Regions from separate parts of the Homo sapiens genome. Here all the other regions are linked to region 1. The links are contacts of gene promoters, found by promoter capture Hi-C in blood cells and fetal thymus (Javierre and others, 2016). All regions are on one chromosome and are shown on one strand. Each heading gives the region's core, a stretch centred on a gene start or on the middle of the fragment in contact. The rest is flanking DNA. Distances are from core to core; before and after follow the strand shown.

The links. The method cuts DNA at HindIII sites, captures the fragments that hold promoters and counts their contacts. A CHiCAGO score of 5 or more calls a contact.
Region 2: a fragment that was not itself captured here is called in contact with the fragment with the promoter of MRO in region 1 in 1 of 17 cell types (neutrophils); the score reaches 6.2 in neutrophils.
Region 3: a fragment that was not itself captured here is called in contact with the fragment with the promoter of MRO in region 1 in 1 of 17 cell types (neutrophils); the score reaches 5.9 in neutrophils.

Annotation. Positions count from the first base shown.
Region 1 is chr18:50,818,460-50,821,414 of GRCh38, forward strand. It overlaps MRO (maestro), which reads right to left and starts at 1,557. Exons shown (of 8, transcript NM_031939.6): 1 at 1,438-1,557; 2 at 1,122-1,243. RefSeq lists enhancers at 1,242-1,875, 1,712-1,761. The HindIII fragment of the contact is 17,012 bases long and covers 1-2,955 here.
Region 2 is chr18:51,192,485-51,195,439 of GRCh38, forward strand. All of the region lies in intron 1 of MEX3C (mex-3 RNA binding family member C), which reads right to left. Among named protein-coding and RNA genes, the nearest start is that of MEX3C, 3.7 kb to the right of the region's middle. RefSeq lists a silencer at 2,215-2,509. The HindIII fragment of the contact is 2,119 bases long and covers 502-2,620 here.
Region 3 is chr18:51,170,441-51,173,395 of GRCh38, forward strand. No RefSeq gene overlaps it. Among named protein-coding and RNA genes, the nearest start is that of MEX3C, 26 kb to the right of the region's middle. The HindIII fragment of the contact is 2,745 bases long and covers 149-2,893 here.

The DNA of each region.
Region 1 (2,955 bases), core at 307-2,806:
GCTGGGGCTTGTGTTCATTGCCAGGTTGTGCTCTACCTGATCTTACTGAAGATACATGGATTTGGGGTAACTTAGAAGACTGTTTTATGCTTTACACTGACTCCCATCTGCTTTTGCAAACTTGAATGATTCTGACTCAAAATATTAGATTTTTGGTCAATAATCCTTTTATTTATTGAAGCCAAAAGGTATATTATGAAGGCCAAAATTATAAAACACTTTGATTTTATCTCATCTGTAAAATGAGCAGAAGAAACTGTTAGATTGCTTAAAAATCCTTCCAACACTGAACTTATAAATGACAATAGTAGGCTGCGTGTGGTGGCTCATGCCTATAAATCCCAGCATTTTGGGAGGCTGAGGCAGGCAGATTGCTTGAGGTCAGGAGATCAAGACCAGCCTGAGCAACATGGTGAAACCCCGCCTCTACTAAAAATACAAAAATTAGCCAGACATGGTGGTGCACACCTGTAGTCCCAGCTACTCAGGAGGCTGAGGCAGAAGAATCACTTGAACCCAGGAGACAGAGGTTGCAGTGAGCCGAGATCGGGCCACCGCACCCCAGCTTGGGCAACACAACAAGACCCTGTCTCAAAAAAATGAAAAAAAAAATTAATATTAAAAAAATCGTCTTCATTTTAGAAAAGAAGAAACTGGGCTTAAAGTAATGTTGAACAATTAACTCAAAGTCAAATACTGGCAGAGCAGATTTTAGGACTCTGAAAGATATCCTTTCAGTCACTGTGCTATAAGCCTAGGTTCAGCTCCCAGGCAATGTCCTGTGAGCTGAACGAGGGAAGACAGACCGCATAGACATTTCAGTTTAAAGTGTCAATATCTTCCCTGAGTCCCTGCCATTCTATTATATTGCTGACAATAGAATGATCTATAACCCAACTATTGATCGATTAACATAGTTTGTGAAAAGCAAACAAAATCAGCTTCCTGGTCAACATTGCCCACTTCAGTTTTACAAAGAGAACATTACCAAATCCTACCCCCTAGAGGTCGAGCTCCCATACTGGTGACCAGAGTGACATTCCAGAAAGGTTTTGGGAACCCAAGTGCAGCCAGGACGCCTCCCGCTGCATCTGGCTGCCCCGGCCAACAGTGTCCCTTACCTGCGGCTCCTGCAGGCGGCTGCCACGTGATGAACCGGAGCCCGTTCCTGACTCGGGAGGGCTGCTTTCCCGGGTAGTAGCCAAATGTGATGACTCGGCTAAATTTTCCCAGCCCTGAATTCCTAACATACAAGAAGGGAAATTAGGAGGTGACGCAGGGTCTGTCCAGGATAACGGGTCGGCACAGAGTGTTGGAAAGTGAGAATCAAATAAGAGGGGAAAGTCAAAGTTTATAGAGTATTTGGGCAGGGGAGGGAATTGTTCTGGAATGAAACCGACAAGAATATTGTAGGGTGGCACAAGCATGACTTGCTACCTTTGCTTCCCCACGCCATGCTGAGGTGTTTTTCCTTCTCCTTGCTGTGATTTCCCCTCCTTCTTCCCTCATGCCAGCCTGGTCGACACTTTCTGCAGAAATTCTGCAGATGGCAATTCTGGGGACCTTTCCTCTGCACCAAACAAAACCTCCCTGCCAAGGCCCGTTCCCCATGCGGCCGCGAGATGGCGGCATGACTCAATGGACGGGTTCCAGGCGACCCCTGCACAAAGCCGCCGCCGTGGCTGCCTCCTTCCTTACATAATCCTGTTAGAGCGCATTTAATCTAAGGATGGGACACTGTGTTCCATGCCAAGCAGCCTCATCGTGGCTGATTGTTGCACCAACAACAAGAGCTTTAACCGTTGACGTCCCTTCCTGCTCAAGAAACACCGTATGTCCCGAAAGGAGCGATTTAAGCTCTCAAAATGATTTATTGGTAAAAAGCAAAGCAAAATTAAAACCGGGGAATTACAGCACCTGCAGAATTTAGGAGCCTCTCTCTCTCATCAGCCCTCCTTCCCTGACTCTCCAAACACGTGCATAAATCTATTTAACAATAATTAGTTATCGTCTCGCTCTGCATTGGGTCATAAAGGGAGAAAATATGTCCTGAAAGGAAAAAAGAACAGTTATATTTTCAAAGACAGAGGCACTTATTGTTATGCTAATAGATAACATTCAATTAAAACTTCTGTGTGCCAAATGTTGTGATAAATATTACATAGACTATCTCATTCAATTGTTACATCAAACCAAAGGTTAATACTCCTACTATAGTCTCCATTTTAAGGCTGGAGAAACTGAGGCACAGGGAGATTACCTTGACAAAGGTCATGCAGTTAATTTGTGGCAGTTAAAATTCAGCTACAGGCAGGCTAATGTAAGAGCTTGGACTCAGCCATGATGCTATGCACTGGACTGGTCTAGAAAACCCAGGAGATAAACAGAAAAATATAAACCAGAGAACTATGTCAGAGTGGAAGATGAAAGAAAAAGGCAGAAAGAAAATCGATGCTGCTGAGAAAATAAGAAGAATGAGGCTAAAACACCACCCTCTTCAGATTAAGTTACAAGGGAACCACTGTGACATTTGAGGACACAATTTCAATAGAGTGACAGAGAAAGGAAGCTAGACTGCAAAACTAAGGGGCTATGAGGAAAGAGGAAATTGAGATGTCTTGCTGCAAAAGGAAAGCAATAAATAGACTAGAAGAGACAGCAAGGTCAGGCAAAAGCATTTTGGTTTTCTTGTGTGCTTTTTGAAATGGAATAAAGCCTGGCCTTGTTTGAAAGTGGTTGCAAGGGAGCCCTAATATGTGGCTGGTGCCAAGTAGTGGTAATAGGAAGAGGTGGAGGGGGCATCAAGGGCACGAGGGAAAGGGTTAGCTCTGGAGGAGGAAGAAAGATGGCTGCCTCTGCCTGCAACTGGGAGGCAGCCACAGAGATGAAGATACATCAACACAAAACTGAGAGGAATGGGCGAGTTCAATTCTTCCAAATTAGCTTTAATCTTTT
Region 2 (2,955 bases), core at 311-2,810, 370 kb after region 1:
TAGCTGGACACATTAGAACTATATTACAATTAAAACTGTGCCTTGTGGGTAGTACAGACACCAAAATTTTATCAAGTAAACTAATTTGGATAGTGGTATTTTAAATTATGCATATTAGAAATTCAGTATCCTACGATTAGGGCACAAGTTAATCCAAAATACTAACCTTCCAGAGCAGAATGCTTCAATACTGAAGTGGCAATGTAGAGTACAAAGAATTTTATTTCTGATGTCAAACTATGCTAAATCCAATCTCAACTATTTGAGCAAGTTAGCTCTCAGAACCTCTGTTTCTACCTCTCTAAACGGCAGTAACCACCTAGCAGGGTTAAACGGCACTGGTGAAGCACCTAACATAGTACTAAGCAAAGAGAAGTCCAACAATGCACCCTCATCCCCATAAAAGAAAAAGACACTGTGCTGTAGCATCATTCTGAAACTATTTATTCTCATGAAATATGTACTTCTCCTTGAAGAGAAAATTTATGTACAGCAAGACCAAGCTTTCTCTTTTTCTCCTGGTCACAGACGTATAAACCCTATTTCAGTTGTGTTAGAGCTTGAAGGGTGGTTCCACCCTAAGAAATTGGGAAGACAAATTGAAACAGTGTAAAGTATTAATTGTTAATAAAGAATTTTGTTTTATAATGTGTAATATATTAAGCACACTTACTATTCATACATAAATATCCAGATATTGGGAGTATGCACATTTTTTTTGGACAGGGTGTACAATAAAAAGAAGCTAGAGACGACTTTTCTAGACTATGTGGCTAGAGAACACACATAGACCATTAATTAAAGTCTAATGAAAGATACACATTTATCCTAATAGTAATACAAAATCTTGGGTTACAAGTCTCTAAACAACTGAATTTATGACATTTAGTATTAATTTATAATGTATTAAGAATGGGTATACAGTTCTATTTTAATTCACTTTTTAGTCTAAATGGATATAAATGACTGTACAAATTGGAACAAAACCTGCTGACTAAAATTAGACCTGTTAATCACTGTTAATATGTCTTGCAGGTACTATACTTAAAAACAGAGACGTTCTAAGTTTATAAAATTAGGTCTTAAAATCTGTTGTCAGGTTTATTTTTGATGTCCATATTCTAAAACTTCTTTGATTATATCAACAAGCCTCTTCAGTTCCTGGCTTTATTTTACAGTATTGTTGTTTCACAACAGATGCAATGCTTTAAAAAACAAGGCCAATTTAACATTTACAAATGACCATATGCTACTGGGGAGTATAAATTCGAGGTCAAACACTCTGCCAACTTTCATCAGTATCAAAAGCGGTAGTTTGTGTTTTAGAAAAACACTGGAACTCAGAGGCCATCTACATGAGTTGCTAGTCTATGTGACTCAGAATTCCATTTGTCCTGCTCTTTGCTTCAGAGCTGAAGTCATAAATGTCTCCATCTGTGACATAATTATTTCCAAAATCAATTAAGAGATGTCAAATAGAAAATTATGGCTTCAGGTAATACATAAAATGGCAGAAATGGATAATTTAATCTTAAGGATGAAAGTTTAGCTCCTTCAAAGCAAACAAGAAAATGAAATGATTTGCCCTGTTTTACTTACTTAGGACAGATTCTCTCCCGTGGGGAAATATAATACTGTAAAAGAATGTGAACATTAGAAGTCACTTCGTTCTCCATACGAGTGAGCAAACACTTTACAGGTTTATTACTATGCTGCTGGGACATGGGGGTGGCAAAGGGGTCAATGATCCACAAGTTGTATGGTTCAGAACAGCAAAAGGACCAGATTTTCTGCTTTTAAGATAGAGGATGATGACATACTTTTAACAGTATTGTCAACTCTGGGAAAATACAAGGTTTAAATGGAAGAGCCAGCAATTTGTCTCCATGATCTAAGACATAATTAAATTCAACATTTCCTTATTAACCAAATAAACACAGCCCTCAAAAGAAAAACTAAGGCTTTATCTCATTTCCTATCACGTAATAGCTGGTACAAAATAAAAACTTGGAATTCACTTTACTTTTAAAAAACTGATTTCTATAAAGATTAACAACATACACAAGTAAGGGCCATTTAGCAGTGCTTTAAGGGGTGTCTACTATAATGAAGGACTAAAGTTTGTATTAAACTAAATCTATAAAATATGTTATCTTGTCCTTCAGTAAAACTGGCACGTAAATGTTTTCTTCCTTTGTTACCCTAGACTGTTACCATAAGCACACGGAAGCAACTTGTCCTGAGAAGTGGCATCTTCATATGGCATTCAGGCTTCTTCACATTCTGGTGTGAACGCCTGCCTTCCCCCTTTTCCACCACTCCCCTTTACAGACCTCAAGTATCAAAACAACACTACTTGGCAATTATACCTAGGCTAGTCCTCCACACCCCTCCTCACATTGTTCCTCCACAGTTTTTCAATCTCCATTTGTTAGACTCCTTCCTACCCATTTTCCAAGGCCCTCTCCATAGATGTTCTCTTACCTGAGACTTTGTCATACTAAATACACTATAGTTAGTGCCATTCTACTGTTTATTAGACTGTTATCTTCTTAAGGGCAGAAAGTCTGAATTAACTTCACATTCTCAATACCACAAACTCAAAACCTGGCAAAATACAAGCTTGGTACATAGCGATTCCTCAGTGTTCTTACATGAATGGTCAACTCATTCTGATCCAAATTGAGATGTTGTAATTTTATCCCATGTAAACAAAAGTTTTCTCCTGGATTATTACTCTAAGTATCGCCAAAACCAAACAATCCAGGAATCTGAAACTCATTAACCAGAAGAACGACAAGCATAAGCTACCTTTCAATTGAAAGGTCCAGCTTTGAACAGTGTCTGTAAGTGCCAATCATCAGGCAGTCTGAACTAAGCTATCTCCTTTATCCAGATTTCAGATGAGTTTTTATTAAAATCCTACAGATAGGAAAGAAATAAGCCAAGTCTGAT
Region 3 (2,955 bases), core at 271-2,770, 350 kb after region 1:
GAGTCCTGATTCTATCTTTTCTCGGGAAGGGGTGGCACCTAAGGGTGTCTAAGTAGTGGTGACGGTGGAAGGGATGGCAGAAGGATGCTATTCCTGGGGAAAGTTAAAAAGATAAGGGCACCATCTAAAGTAATAGGAACATCAAAAAAGCTTGCCTACTAGCAAAGAAAAGGGACCATTTCTGAAATCCTTGACCACAAATACAATCTTCAACATAAGGATGCATTTTTGAAAAAGCACTTGGAATCACCTGCTTAGGAAAACATAAAAGACGACTGACTCAAGAGTTCTCACAAGTTTCTAGTCATGAGAATAAGATCTTTTCATTGGATTATGTGTGGTTCAAGAAAAGCCACTGGGAACAGTCCAAGAGAAGCAGATTTTGGAGTTTGCTTTCTCAAATTCAAATGAGATGGCAGCTCTCAGAATATGAATTCTGAGAACCTTCACCCATCCACTGATGACACAAACTTAGAAAGATCTGCCTAGCCTCTAGATAACTAGAGCTTCCAGGATTTTTTAAAAAACATCCTAAGTAGGCTGGGCACAGTGGCTCATGTTTGTAATCCTAGCACTCTGGGAGGCCGAAGCTGGAGGATCGCTTGAGGCCAGCCTGGGCAACACAGTCTATCTGTCCAGTATTTCTCTGTTGTTTTAAATGGTCTTTCAGAAAATTTTACTTCAACAATACTAATAATTTTTCAATAGGTATTGCTATTTATTAACTCTATGATCACATTCTCCTGTCACCTAATAAACCTGGCTAATTTACACATGTTGGGCATTAGCCAAATCCACAAATTATCAAGTATTCCCTCAATCCTTTTTGAAATTTTAGCTTTCTAGAGACAGGGTCTCCCTGTTACCCAGGCTGCTCTTGAACTCCTGGGCTGAAGTGATCCTCCAGCCTCGGCCTTCCGAAGTGCTGGGATTATAGGCATCAATCAGCCACTGCACCTAGCCCTAGTTTTATCGTTAAGGTATAATGCCTAGCACTTCACATCTGACTCAAGTAGACTTGAAACCACTACCCATTCATGTCCCTTGTGATACTTTGGTAATTTCCCTGAAATTGCAGAAACAGATCATGTCAAAAGTTCCACTCAGTGTTTCTGATCTTGAAAATGTCATGAAACAGATATAAAAGCCTTAATGCTTTAATATAGGGGAATATCTACATTTTATTTCCAAATTTTAAGTAATTACACTCAGTTTCAGGATTAAATCAGAAACCCTCAGATTTTCCATTTTGAATACAGGCAAACTATTGCTGACTTATCCAAGAAGATTCTAATTTAGAAGAACCACCATCTGACTTACTTTATGGTACAGGTCATGTTTGTATCCTTAAGTTTTGTGCAGCCCTGAAGATGGTGTGACTGATTTGTCCCATCCTCATGCTCCATATTAATATATGCAGTAAATTATGCATAACACTGCTAGCAGCTTTGGGTAAACTGAAATGTTACTGGTAGGAATTGAGCAGATTTATATAATCTTGATTCTCATTTACTGCCTCTTCTTAAACTAGCAAGCCTCTTCTTACTAAGCCAGTTCTTTTCAGTTTTTGTTTTAAACTCAGCTGAATACTGTAGTTCCTTCTTAAAACTTCCACATTACAAAAGGAAAGTACTTACGCACATGCTTTTAGAGATTGAAGATTTATCATTTAAAACACATTCAAAGGCAGCAGGAAGTCTATTTTTACAGCTCATTTAGTAATCAAGTTACAAATATCCCCATTTTCCATGAGACTAATGAGGATCTAAACTCACCCCAAGGGCTTAGAAATGTGTGGTTTCTCTTCAGCCATTTTCCCTCCCAATTCCAATCTCTGACCAGTGAACTCCATTTACTATTTAAAATATCTAATCACTTATCCTCCTTATGAAGTTTTCCTGACTGGTGTACAAATGCTATCCTTTAAAATGCAGATAAATGAATATGGAGGCAGTAGAAAATCTCAATGGCGGGAACATTTCTTTCACAATTTTCAATTATTCCATACAATCAGCTGAAGAAACTTAATAGGAAGAGTTACTCTGATATACCCGAGGGGGAAGGTATGCCACTTTAAAGAGAACAGCTATTTTAAATCTTTACTAAATTGAATCTCCTCCTGAGGCATCTCAATGTCCTTCCCTGTATTTCATCAGGGCTCCACTGCCCATAGTTACTTCGATTAGTCACTAAGAGCAAATGGTTAAGTTACGAGATAGCCAGAAAAGAGAATATTACTGCTACCATTAAATTACGTTGTAGAAGTATACTGACAAGGAAAAGATGTTCACAGTGTATTATAAACAAACATCCCCAATCTCCATTATTTATAAAAAGTTTTAGAATGAGAAAAGTAGAAATTTAAGGGATAGAAGGGGCAGGTAGCAGACTGAGAACGAGTGTCTGGTTTTGGGCTAACAGATTCACTGAATAATCTGTAAAAACACGTTTACTACCCCTATTTTATACCTGTTTTTTATTATTCTAGCCTCCATTCTTGCTAAGTCTACTTTGCAAAGGGATTCCTTTGATATAAAGTCTTTTACAGGAAGAATTATAGAACACTACAATAACTGAGCAGCTAGCCAAACCTGTTTTCAGTTTAGCATCCACCTTTCCAGGTTGTGAAAATGGAATAAGGTAAAGGTCTCACAATAGGTTTGCCTAATTCTTGGTTATTCACATTGCAGATTATCCAGTGTGGTATGGCTACTTCGTGTAACATAGGCCCACAGATTTCCTGAGGTCTCTCTTCCCCAGTACTTAAGTAAACAAGAAAAACAACACAGGCACACAGGGAAAGGCAGATCCAGACTTAGAACCAAAGTTAAGTGCTTATCAGTTTTGCTAACATTGGTTCCATACAAGTTTTGGCTTACTCTGGGACAAGGAAAGCTTCTAAAATAGAGATTATTTTCAAGGCCCCCTGAAAGATTTTGACCAAGCATTAGGTAA